2 separate regions of the Homo sapiens genome follow, and region 1 is linked to region 2. Evidence: promoter capture Hi-C in 16 types of primary human blood cells and fetal thymus (Javierre and others, 2016). All regions are on one chromosome and are shown on one strand. The core of a region is centred on a gene start or on the middle of the fragment in contact, and the rest is flanking DNA. Distances in the headings are between cores, read along the strand shown. Region 1 holds the start of RAB37-AS1 (RAB37 antisense RNA 1). Region 2 holds the start of GRIN2C (glutamate ionotropic receptor NMDA type subunit 2C).

Region 1 (6,112 bases), core at 678-3,177, 190 kb before region 2:
CTCTAGATCTGACAGTCCATGTGTCTTCTCCCTCCAGGTCTCTGAATTCCTAGGATATAGAGAAGGAGAAAAAATGTATAACAACTATCCCAGTCTAGAAATTTTAAAGCCATCACAGTTTGAAGTAAACTAGAAGAAATTCTGTGCTATTTGATGTTGTCAATTTAGCCCAGTAAAAACTGCATGCAAGGCCAGGCATGGTGGCTCACACCTGTAATCTCAGCACTTTGGGAGGCCGAGGCGGTGGACCGCTTGAGGTCAAGGGTTCAAGACCAGCCTGGCCAACATGGTAAAATCTGTCTCTACTAAAAATACAAAAATTCGCTGGGCATGGTGGTGTGCGCCTGTGATCCCAGCTACTCAGGAGGCTGAGGCAGGAGAATTGCTTGAGCCTGGGAGGCAGAGACTGCAGTGAACCGAAATCACACCACTGCACTCCACTCTAGCCTGGGCAACAAAGCAAGACCTTGTCTCAAAAAAAAAAAGAAAAAAAAAGTTTATGCAAGCAGAGGAACATAATTACAAATCAATTACAAAATTTTCCTGGCAACTAGATATGTGGGTCTCTCCAAGTTTATACCATCCTATAAAGGTATAAATACTCATTTTGAAAGCTTTAAGATTGGGAGCTCAGATTGTTCAAAATATTGATCAGATGTGGTATTTTCCATTTCAATTACCCACACACGAGATGTAGGATGTAGTCCATGAAGACTGTTACTTCCTTTGAGTTTATTGATCACCAAATTGAGAGTGGGAACCCATTCCAACAAGTTCCAACATATTTAAAGGCAAGTATCTATTTACTACTAGTAAAGGCTCAATGTCATCAGCTTGGCTGTGTGAGCACCCTGAGAGCAGGAGCCAGCCTTAAACCTTCTGTGGTGCCCAGCAGAGTGACATATGTATGTAAGGAAAGTTTTCCTTCTTATATAGTGCTGACAACCTCCTCCTAATACTACTTTATGATTGTGCATGATGTTTTATTGTGATCCACTTAAAACTCTTTTTGTAAAGGGGTAGGGCATCAACTTATTTGTATTATATTAAAAATTACTATGTAGTAGAGTCCAAGGAGTTCCCATTGATTGATTAGTGTCTATTGTCCATGAGAAGCAGGGCTCCCCTCCAACATTAATTGCTAGGATAAATTCTTTTTTTGAAGTGGGGTCTCAGTCTGTCACCCAGGCTGGAATGCAGTGGTGTGATCTCAGCTCACTGCAACCTCTGCCTCCCAGGCAAGTGATTCTCCCACCTCAGCCTCCCCAGTAACTGGAACTGCAGGCATGTGCCACCATGCCTGGCTAATTTTTTGGCAGTTGTTGTTTTGTAGAGACAGAGTTTCACCATGTTGGCCAGGCTGGTCTTGAACTCCTGGCCTCAAGAGATCCACCCGCTCGGCCTCCCAAAGTGCTGGCATTATATGTATGAGCCACCATGCCCAGCGTGGGGAAATGATTTTTTAAATAGACTTGTTATTGACACATAACAAACACCACTTTGGGAAGCTGAGGCGGGCAGATCTCTTGAGGTCAGGAGTTCAAGACCAGCCTGGCCAACATGGCGAAACTTTGTCTCTACTAAAAATACAAAAATCAGCTAGGCGTGGTAACACACTCCTATAATCTCAGCTACTAGGGAGGCTGAGACAGGAGAATCACTTGAACCGAGGAGGTGGAGACTGCAGTGAGCCAAGATCACACCACTGCACTCCAGCTTCAGCAACAGAGCAAGACTCCATCTCAAAAAAACAAAAAGAAATATGACAAACACCAAAAAATCCTGAATCTTATGTGTCTACCTTGGTGAATTATCACAAAGTGAACATACCTGTGCAATCACTATCAAGAGAAAGAAATAGAACCTTGTCAGCTTCCCAAGAGGCCCCCTCCCACATTCCACTTGCCAAACACCCTCCCCCAGAGATTGTCATTATAGAGGAAGAAGCATCATCTTGTGTTTTGACAGCACAGCAGATGTTATGTAGGGTAGTCCTAGAAACTTGCCAGAGAAGAGATATTGTCGTATGATGAAACGAAACTCCAGGCTTGGAATAAGCCAAACCTTGATGTGACTTTGAGCAACATCTGTGAGTCTTAATTTTCTTAGCTATAAAATAGGAATGATAATACCTGCCTTATTATTTTTGAGCAAGGATGTTAGCGAATATAATGTAACGCGTATATATAAAATCTCTGGAATATAGGAAGCATTCAATAAAAGTGGTTGTATTGGCTGGGCGCAGTGGCTCCCAGCACTTTGGGAGGCCAAGGAGGATGAATCATGAGGTCAGGAGATCGAGACCATCCTGGCCAACATGGTGAAACCCCATTTCTACTAAAAATACAAAAATTAGCCGGGGGTGGTGGCATGCACCTGCAGTCCCAGCTACTCAGGAGGCTGAGGCAGGAGAATCGCTTTAACCTGGGAGGCAGAGGTTGCAGTGAACCAAGATCACACCACTGCACTTCAGCCTGGTGACAGAGTGAGACTCCATCCGAAAAAAAAAAAAAAGTGGTTGTATTAGGGCATGCATCTTGGGCTCCAAAGCAGCTTCAATGGGTGTCACATTCAGTCTCACCTAAAATGATGAGCTTTGTGAGAAGAGCAGCAGCTTCATACAAGAGAATCTCAGAAACACACACACTACCTATTTCACAGGCAGAAGTCCATGGAAATAAACTCACACAACCCATCTATACAAAAAGCGTGACTTCTATGCAAACATCCCAGTTCTGACTTCCTAAGTTGAGTATCTTTTTTCTCTTGGAGGTGGTGTATGGGACTTGATGAAATTCATTTATATGAAAAACATACGCCAAATATCATGATAGGCATTGTGTAGCTCTTGCACTTTAGCTGGTCCCAATAGTTGGAGGCTGACCCAGGCAAGCCCAAGTAACTCTTAGAAGATTCCCGTAGGGTGGGCTGGAAGCTGGGAACTGACTGAAAACATTGAGCTCATCCATCATGTGCCTGGAGTTTTTAAATAGAGTTGTTGTTGCCACAAATCTGAAAATTTGGTGCAGCTAAATAATTTAAAACAAAGGAGCAACCTGGCTGCTCTTTTCCTTAGAGAACTCTCAGTTCTCTCTTGCCACCAGCTTCAAGAGCCATCCAGGGCAATGGTCTGGGGTAGGGGTTCAGGAACAGCCCACGGATTGGGTCCCTACTGTGCCAGGGTCTGACCTTGAGCTCCCAGAAAATGAAAAGATTTTCATTTCATTTTCACAGAGAGGGCAAGCTTTTGCCCCAGATACCAGTGAATTAGGACAAAAGGGCTTCAGTTCAAGCACTTACTTCCTAATTCCCTATCACCAGGGCTCTAAGGAACATCCACATACCAGACTAGCTTCCAGAGGGACGAACAATTCCTAGGACAAAGTCAGTCTCAGAAAGACTGGGGGTGGGGGGCAGAAAAACGTGAGCTGCTCATCCATTCATCCAGGGCTTGGTTCTTCTTGGGTGAAAAGGGATTACCAGGTCTCTGTCTTCCAAAGTATGTCCATTTCCTCCGACTGCTCTAACACCTCTTCTGGGTGAAAGGAAAAGGCAAGCAGGTAATATCTGCCACTCTCCCCCATCTCCTGCACTTATTCTTCACTTCCTTCTTCTATTACCCATCTTGTAATTTCTGTGTCCCTCAAAAGTCCGCATGCCTCATCGATTCATTCAGCAAACATGCATTGGACATTTCCAAAGCGTAAAGAACTAGGCTGGTCATTGTCGAGAATATAGACGCAAATGATTCCCACCTTCACTAAGCCTGTGGCCTAGAAGGCATGCACACAAATGGCTATACTTTTATATAATTCCAGAAGTGTCCTAAGAAAGATACGGGTAGCTGCAAGGGAGTGACCCAGGAAGAAAAGGTCATGTCTGACTGAATTTGAAATGTCCTCTCTCACTTATGGCTTCTGATTAAAGTTAACCTCCAGGCTTGGCACGGTGGCTCACACCTGTAATCCCAGCACTTTGGGAGGCTGAGGCAGGTGGATCATGAGGTCAGGAATTCGAGACCAGCTTGGCCAACATGGTGAAACTCGTCTCTACTAAAAATACAAAAATTAGTCAGCCGTGGTGGTGCACGCCTGAAATCCCAGCTACTCAGGAGGCAGAGGCAGGAGAATCGCTTGAACCCAGGAAGCAGAAGTTGCAGTGAGCTGAGATCACACCATTGCACTCCAGCCTGGGTGACAGAGTGAGACTCTGTCCCCCCACAAAAAAAATTAAAATTAAAAAATAAAAAATAAAGTTAACATCCATGAGAGACAGAGTTCCACACATCAGCTAGCTCCCTCCCCATGGGACTGTCACCTATTAATCCTAGGGAAAGGTCTGGATACAACAGTGTTCTCCTTCCCTGCCAGAAAATTGTACAAGAGAAAGACAAATAAAACAGCAAAAGACCATACTCGCCATTCTGTGTTCCTCTCTCATTCTCTATCCCACAGGTGCTTCTTTTATTTTTTTTTCGATGAAACAATGATAATGATAATGGTATGCAAATTTGTCCTCAAAAGAATCCAAATTAGCAGAAAAATCCATGCCCTGTAAGTGAAGAGAGTTTTGTTTTCAAAGCGCACTAGTTCCAATTCTCAAAGATTTCTATTGTCAGCTCAGGAACAAACAAGAAAGCCAAGAAAAGCTAGCTGCTCCCTGTATAATATTTCCACTGGCTTGTTTTCCTCTCTTGCTTGCTCTGAAGGCTTACAGATAAACAAATGAAGTGTATATTACATCACTGGCAATCTGGTGCCGTCTGGGACTCCTTTGGCTGATAGGTCGGTCCTGCCCAGATCCCAGAGCAGGCAGCTGGTGTGGGGAGTGGTGGTGCCTGCTAGTTCTCTTAGGATAACCTCAGCAGGAAATGATGGTGACTCAGTCCAGCGCCTCAAAGTCGTTTTCCAAACTCTCCAGGCTTTCCTCTCCTAAGCATCCTTTCCTTTAATTTGTGGTCCCTGGGGCCTTTTGTGAGAAAATGTCTGAGACTCACTTGTGTTGCTGCCCTAATGTTTCCTCTTATAAGCTGTTCTAGGGAGGGACGTCCTTCAGTTTCAGGGCAGGAAACTCCGCCTTACTGGGTGGAAGTAAACAGCCAGAGGTGAGCACCAGGCTGGAGAATTGTTGAAGTGGGCATTTGAAGTGGCTCTAAATTTATCCCAATACCCTTCTTGCTTCCTTCCTCCTCTTCTCAGGCAAGAGAAACAGTCTGTAGAGACTGCGAGTGCGAATGGAGATCACAGCTCCTTGTTAACTCACTCAGGCAATGTAGTTCCCAGCTGGGAGTGGCCCTGGACATCCTCCTATCTCTTAACCAGAGGAGGTTTTCTGGGGCCAAGAGAGACAGCTCCAAGCAAACAGATCTGGAAAATATTAACCCCTAACTGATGACACCAGGCCTCACCCTGCTCCTAAAGGGAGCAAGGCCTTGAGTGGTGCAGTGAAAATAACTTGAGACGTGCAGGGCTCAAGAATTCTCCCAGCACATGGTTCCTGACCTTGATTTCTAAGTCAGCTCCCTCCCTTCTCATTTGCTTATCAGCGCCTTTTCATTTGCTTATTAGCACCTTCTCATTTGCTTATTAGCAGACAGTTTCTACCCATCAACATGAGGATGCTATTTAATCATTTGTGCTTTTGCAAATGCACATGCTTTTAGGTATCTGAAACCAAGCTGTGCTTAAGTTCAAATTTTCTCTTACTTGCTAGCCTTCTGCCCCTGGCCACCACACACACAGACACACAGACACACACACACACACACACACACATGCCTGCACATGCACACATACGCACCCTTCCTCTCATGAGCTGTGGGCAGGGCCAGTGATCATCCGTTTTTGTTCTCTGTCTCCCCTTAGCTTTTGTTATGAGCCTTTTAAAAGCAAAGCAGGCTGGGTGCAGTGGCTTAGTCCTGTAATCCCAGCACTTTGGGAGTCCAAGGCAGGCAGATCACCTGAGGTCAGGAGTTCAAGATCAGCCTGGCCAGCATGAGGAAACTCTGTCTCTAGTAAAAATACAAAAATTAGCTGGGCGTGGTGGCAGGCGCCTGTAACCCCAGCTACTTGGGAGGCTGAGGCAGGAGAATCACTTGAACCCGGAAGGCTGA
Region 2 (6,810 bases), core at 2,052-4,551:
TCCTCCTGCCTCGGCCTCCCAAGTAGCTGGGACTACAGGCGCCCACCACCATGCCCGGCTAATTTTTTGTATTTTTTAGTACAGATAGGGTTTCACCGTGTTAGCCAGGATGGTCTCGATCTCCTGACCTCATGATCTGCCCACCTCGGCCTCCCAAAGTGCTGGGATTACAGGCGTCAGCCACCACACCCAGCTATCTCTCTCTTTTTTTTTAATCCAAAGCCTAATGTCTTACAGACATATGGGCCTTCTTGTATCTCTAGTTCTCTCTAAGGAATCCAGAGAGCGGGGAAGTGCAAGAGGCTACCAGGAACATTCAGGAAAGTTCCTCTTCTCCCCAGGGTGGCACTGAAAGGATCCCTCCAGGGAACCCACTAAACCAACTTTAGTGTAGAAACATCAATTGGCCCGTGTGTGCTGAGCCCCTTCCCTGCAGCAGGCGCTGGATGGTGGAATGTCCCTATGGGTGAGACATGGTCCCTGCCCTCCAGGAACTTAGAGTCAAATCTGCAGAATGAGCATGCTGCTGTTAGCACCTCCAACCTCCTTTTTTCTAAATATATTTCTCTTTCCAACCTTCTCTCCCTACTTCCCTCAAACTCCCCAGCCTCCCCGTCAAGATCTTCTCTTAGCTAAGCATCTAGAGCTCATTCACAGGAAGGTATGAGGGACTGATCATAGCTGAAAGGGTTCTCATTCCCAAGAGAGATGTAGTTTAACCACAATCAGAGCCTTAAGCTAAAGTGCCAGGTGGTAGAATTTCAGGCCAAGAAGACAAGAGTTTTGGCAAGGAAGGGAATATTGCTCTCATGGTGGCGCCCTTGAAATCTTCCCATGTGTACGGTTCCCTAGTACAGTGACACAGAAGTGACAGAAGTGACAGAACTGACAGCCCAGAGACATGTTTGAGTCTGGCAAGGGATCGATCCTAGCCATGCCATGCCATGCCTCAGCTGCCACCACCAATCAGGGATGTCAGATCTCAACCACAAAGGACACTGACATGCTTGTCGCTCCCCTTGCACGGCCTCTGTCTGCTCACCTCTGCCCACACCTCCAGGTCCTAGAGGTTCCTTGCCCTCTGGGGAGCCCCAAACCTCCTACTACCCCTGCCTCCCAGTAATGAGCTCTAGATCTGTGCTGCCCAGTATAGGAGCCGCCAGTCATACACGACTATTGGGTACCAGAAACATCTCTCACCCAAACGGAGTTTGCTATCAGTGTAAAATTTCATGCCACACTGCACATTGAAGACAACAGGGAAAAAGAATGTAAAAAATCTCGTAAACACTTGTATCTTGATTACATGTTGAAATAATAACATTTGGGGTATGTTTAGTCAAAGAAAATATACTATTAAAATTAACGTCACCTGTTTCTATTTGTTTTAATGTGGTTACTAGAAAATTTTAAATTGTACTTGTGGCTCCCATTTTATTTCTTTGGACAGTGTGACCCTGGATGAAGGGCCCAGGCTCTCCCTCAACTGCAAAGGGGCAGAATAAGCAGTCTGCCATTAGCATCTCCAACCTCCTTTTTCTAAATGTATTTCTCTTTCCAACTCCCTACTCCCCTCAAGCTTCCACCCTCCCCAGTCAAGACCTTTTCTTAGCCAAGGACCTAGAGCTCATTCACATGAAGGAATAAGGGTCTGGTAATAGCTGAAAATGTTCTCATTCCCACTCTCTCCAATAGGAAGACATCCTCATGGGCTGGGGACACCAGAGACTCTCTCCAAAGGGAAGGTGTCCTGCTGGGTTGGGGGTTGGGGGTCGGGGGGTGGGGGAGTTGAGGCAGGTTGTACCTCTAATCAAGGGGCCTAAAATGGGGGAGGGATCCCAGAATACCTCCAGAGCCAGGGGCCAAAACTAGGTAAGTCCCTGGGCTCCAAATAGCAAGGGGCAGACTCAAGGAGCTTCCGAATTCTGTCTCATCACCCCGTCTAACCCAGCCACCCTACAGAGGTAGGAGGGACAAACTCCACTTTCCCCCGCCACAATCTCCTCCCTTGCCTCCCCCTCCCCACCTCCCACCTACCCACCCCCGCCAGCCCCACTGCACTGCTGAAGCCTTCCTCCAGCCACTGCTCCCTCCTCACACAGGACAGCTACACCCTGGTGCCCACAAATGAAGTCCAGACAGCTTAGTCCCATAGACAGAGCCCTCTGCACCCTGACCGCAACCAACCGTCCTCCCATCCCTGGAACCCACAGCTCTGCCAGTCTGCTGGCCAAACAGCCCCATTCTGCCCTCATCTCCAGGCCTCGTTCCAGCATCCCCCAGGCTGGAATGTCCTCATCCCAACAGAAGTCTACTCTCCTTCAGGGCCCAGCTGAAATCCCTCTCCCACAGGCACCTGCCTTGATGCCTCAGGCTCTAGGCGCAGGGACTGCGGCCAGGCTGGGGCACCTGCCCTTCTTCCCCCTGCCCTGGCTTCCCCTCCTGGGTGGGGAGCTCTGTGTAGTGGTCCCCTCCACCCCTCCATTCTGCCCTGCGGCAGGTGTGTGTGCACTCATTAACACCCTGCCCCACACTGGACTGCGGGCTCCTTGAGGGCAGACACATTGTCTCAGAGACCTCTGCCCACCCACCCACTCAGGGTCTCACCCCTTCCACAAACAGCCCTTAAACTAATGTTTGACAAACACAGAGATCCCCAAAGAGCCCCAGAGAGGATGGCAGTGGTCAGTCCTGCAGGACACAGCAGCATCTAGAAGGGTCTGAGCACCTTCCCAGGCTGGGGGCCTTCTCCTTCCCGGGTCCTCACAGCTCAGCCAGACCCCCTGGCACGGACCTGCACACACATGCACACTCCCGCACTCATACCCGCTCACATCTGAGATACCGATGGCTCTCCCTCTCCCAGGCTAGGAAACTCTGTCGCAGGAGTCCTCCCCACCCACCAGCAGAACCCCCGGACCCCCTGCCCTTCCGGTGAGCCGCCCCTCCTTTGCCGTCGGGTTTCCCTCCCTCCCTTTTGCCCAGCCAAAACCCGAACCCAGGCGCCAGGGGAGAGGACCGCCGTTCTAGCTTGCCCCACTGCTGGGGGCACGGAGTTCTTGCTCCTCCAAGGCTACGGCCCCCGTCTCCGCGGACCCCGCCCGGACTCCCCCTGGCCACCGGGACGCCCCGCCCCCTCCCCTCCGCAGCAATCTCTTACACTCGGGCTGTGAAGTTCGGGGTATTTTTAGGCCGGCGATAAATAATTCATAGGGAACGTGGCATCAGGCTCCCCCCGCGGGAGGAGGGGGCGCGAGCAGCGAGAGCCACCGTCACCCGCGGCTCAAGGACACTCGCGATGCGGCGGCGGCGGCGGCGGCGGCGGCTCCGGGCGGGGACCCGCGCCACGCCTCCTGGCGGCCAAGCTGAGCACCACGCACCCGGCGCCCCCCGCCCCACGCTGCCCCCCGCCGGCGTCCGCGGCTCCGGGGCCCCCACCCCCACTCCCCCAAGCTGGGTCGTGACCCCGAGTCCCGCAGTGGGGGGACCAAGCCAGCCTGGCAGGCGGCCCCAGTACCATCCCAGGCCCGCCCGGGGGCCCTGGGCGAACCCAGGTGTCCCGGACCTGCCTACCTGCCCCTGGCACGCTCTTATTCTTCGGGAGTTTAGAAACAGGCTCAAAGTCACTAGCACCGCCAAGACCTGGACGGGCTCTGAAATACAGCCAGCGGAATGGTACCCTCCCCAAATAAGTGTCTTTCCTCGATTTTCCTGTGGCCCGGGGTCAGGGACTGAACTAAGATAACGCCACCATCCGAGGGCTGGGGGACCGAGCCAGAAGTCCCCTTGGACGACCAGGGCTGGGAAACCGAGTGGACGAATGGGGTGGGCATCAGGGCCTGGCGGGAATTCCCGTCTTGCTCACCCAGCAGCTCCTTGCAGGGTCGCGGGACGCACCTGGGGGTTCAGGTTGCCGGGTGCCTTTGCTCCGCGTGTCCCCGCCCTGCCCGCGTAGGCAGGAAACAGGAGACTCGGGGCTTCCCCTCCCCGCCGTCGGGGATCCTGGGCGAAGCCCCCAGAGACCGGCGCAGGCGGCTGGTGCGCAGCCAGGGCCCAGCGCCAGGTCTTGCTCGCCCAGTGCCCTCTCTGCCTACCCTTCCCTTTGCGCTCTGGAAGCCCGGGAGCCGGGCACGGGCCAGCATCTGCAAGATGCCACTACTCTGGAAGCCCACTCCGATTCTCCCAGGTCGCAGGAAGGAGAGAGCTAGGCTGGGGCAAAGGAGATGGGGCAGAGCTGGAAGGGGAAGAAGCGGGACTCGCGGCGGGGGAAGGGGTCTGGGCGCCGAGGCGAGTGCGCAGCAGGTGCCCAGCAGACCTAGGGAAACTGGGGCACTGGGCTGGGGAGCCGCACAGCCCCCTTTCACCTTCTCGACTCCTTTCCAACCCCTCGCTCTGGTGGATCCCAGCCCCGGCCCCCACTCCCGGCCCTGTTCCCCGCTCTCCGCCCCGGCGGCTTCCAGCAGCAACAGTTTGGGTCCGCGGCAGCCCAGACTCCCCTGGTCCCGCGGTGCTGCCGCGCCAAGCGAAGGAGGAGGAGGGCTCGGCGACCCTGGGGACGAACGTCTTGGACGCTTCGCCCGCGTCCTTCTCTCGCGTCCGCCGCGCGCCTGTCTGCTCGGCCTCTTCTTCGCCTTCTCTCCGGCCGCCCGGGTCAAAACCCAAGGCCAGGTTCTTGAGGGTCCGGGTCCTCCAGCCGCCCCCTCCTTGAGCCCCGAGAGTCCTGCGTGGGTCCAACCCCCCGGGTGTCCCGCCTCTGTCTCCGCCGTCCTTGCTCGCGCGCCGCGGGAACCCAGCCCCAAGTTGGCGGCGAAGTTGGTGCCCCTCGCCCGCCGCTCGCCACTTACCGAGGGGAAGGGGCGCTGCGCCCGCGACGAGAGCCCGCGCCGGCCGCCTCCCTCGCGGTGTCTGTCCCAGAGCCTCGGCCCCGGAGGGCTGGCGCGCTCAGTCTCAGCTCCGCGGGCGCCGGAGCCCGGGCGCGGCGGGGCGGGGGCGGGGGCGGGTGGCGCGGCCTGGTCCGCTGGCCCCGACCCGCCCCTGCGCCCCGCGACCCTCCCGAAGCTCGCACGGCGCCCGGCTCCGTCCCGGGCTGGGCTGCGCACCGCGCCTCCTGCTCCCAGAGCTCGCAGCCGACTGTGCGGGAGCTCTCACCGCCGCCCGCGAGGGCCCGCCCCGCCGGGGCCCGCCACCTCCGCCCCGGCCCGGCCCGGCCCGCTGCCCCTCGAGGCCCCTCCCGCCGCATTCCCGGGCCCCTCTCCCCTCTCCGGAACCGCGTCCCCAGACCTGACACTCGGGGCAAGTGCGCCTCGGAGGACACACCAGCCTGCCCGGAGCCTGGGTTTGAGCCCGCAGCTCACGAGTGTGTGACCTTGGGCCAATTTCGAGGACCCCTCAGGTTATACAGCGAGGCAGCATCTTGAGGGCTGCCATAAAAGGGAGTGACCACTCTCTGGACACTGCAAAGCCCTAGGGAGACTGAGGCACTATTTTTAAAGGCCAGTGTGTCTGACTGGAAACGGAAGCAGGAAGGCTTTGAGAGCCAAAGAATGGGCCCCAGGCTAGACTCGCCTGGGGCACCCAGAGGTACAGGGGACAAGCTGCTTCTCAGTCCCCCGCTCCCATTTCTTTTCTGTTTTGATTGTACTGAGGGCTCCCCAGGGAGGGGTGGTCCCGGTCCCGGTCCCGGGCAGCCCTAGTGTGGACAGAAGACAGGCAACCCGCAGCCACAGCAGGGCCGAGCGGAGAAAGGAAGGGTGGCTATGCCAGGCCTGGCTGCCGAGCCCCATCAAGCCCCCAATGAGGCCCCTGAGCAGGGAGCCGTCTCTGCAGCGCCACCTGGTGATGGTAGGGGAGCTACGGCCAGAAGGTGACCCCCGACCCCAACCCTTCCAAAAAAAGTCCCCCATCAACCATGGCTCTTGGTTGCAGCTGTTTTATTTCCAGCATGTTCCCAACCTGGTGACCCTCCACAGTCCAGCAGTAGAGAGATGGGTAAGGGGTTAGATCGGCCCACACCTCCACCTGTCCCTAAGGTTACCTCAGTTGCTGAAAGCTAAAACCTTGCGCGCAAGGGCGACCTTCCCCAGGAGGGAGGAGAGACGCTGGAAGAGCAGCCAAGCCTCCAAGCCAGGGCCGGCCGGGATCAGCAGAGGTGCAAAGTCCCACTCAGACGGACCCAGCCCTTCCCCTCCCAACACTCATCCCTTCCCTGCTGGGGGCCGGGGCTGGGGCTGGGCTCAGTGGCCCAGGAGGCGCAGCATCTCCTGAGGATCCACCAGCTTCTCCCTGGGCTTCCCCGTGCCCTGGCCCCGGGCCACCTCCTCGGCATCCAGCTTCTCCCAGTCTGAGAAAGAGACTGGCCGGACCCCTGAAGCAGAGGGGAGATTGTCAACACCTCCTCCTTCACCCCTCCCAGAACAGCCCCCTCCCAAAGAGTGAGGCCCAGAGAAGGACCACCCACCCCACCTCCCAGGACCTCAGCATCGGGGCCCAGACCTCGGCTGCTGAGCAGGGCCTGGATGGCTGCGTAGCCAGGCCTGGGGCCAGAGGGGAGCAACCCAGCCTTCAGGTCCTGCAGCAGCATCTGGCCGGTGAGGAAGCTGTCAGTCATGGTTGTGGCTATGACACCTGTAGGTCCTCTCTTCACCCAGCCGCTGCAGTAGAGGCCTGAGAGGGGGTAACAAAAGGGGAAGGGAGGGAGGTGGCTGGATACCACCCTGGCCATCCTGTGCCCACAATCTACACCCACGTGCACGCACACAGACACCCCACGCCTCTTGGCAGACTGTCGGCTGAGCCTGCTGTGGCCGCTGG

Evidence for each region. The method cuts DNA at HindIII sites, captures the fragments that hold promoters and counts their contacts. A CHiCAGO score of 5 or more calls a contact.
Region 1: a fragment that was not itself captured here is called in contact with the fragment with the promoter of GRIN2C in region 2 in 7 of 17 cell types (non-activated CD4 T cells, total CD4 T cells, total CD8 T cells and 4 more); the score reaches 6.9 in non-activated CD4 T cells.

What each region holds. Positions count from the first base shown.
Region 1 is chr17:74,672,934-74,679,045 of GRCh38, forward strand. It overlaps RAB37-AS1 (RAB37 antisense RNA 1), which reads right to left and starts at 4,677. Exons shown (of 2, transcript XR_007065904.1): 1 at 4,416-4,677; 2 at 1-3,535. It also overlaps a transcript of RAB37 not described here. The HindIII fragment of the contact is 2,630 bases long and covers 613-3,242 here.
Region 2 is chr17:74,856,584-74,863,393 of GRCh38, forward strand. GRIN2C (glutamate ionotropic receptor NMDA type subunit 2C) reads right to left here and starts at 3,302. Exons shown (of 13, transcript NM_000835.6): 1 at 3,161-3,302. It overlaps FDXR (ferredoxin reductase), which reads right to left. Exons shown (of 12, transcript NM_024417.5): 11 at 6,493-6,663; 12 at 5,914-6,364. The coding sequence ends at 6,234. RefSeq lists an enhancer at 4,129-4,827. The HindIII fragment of the contact is 5,318 bases long and covers 1,578-6,810 here.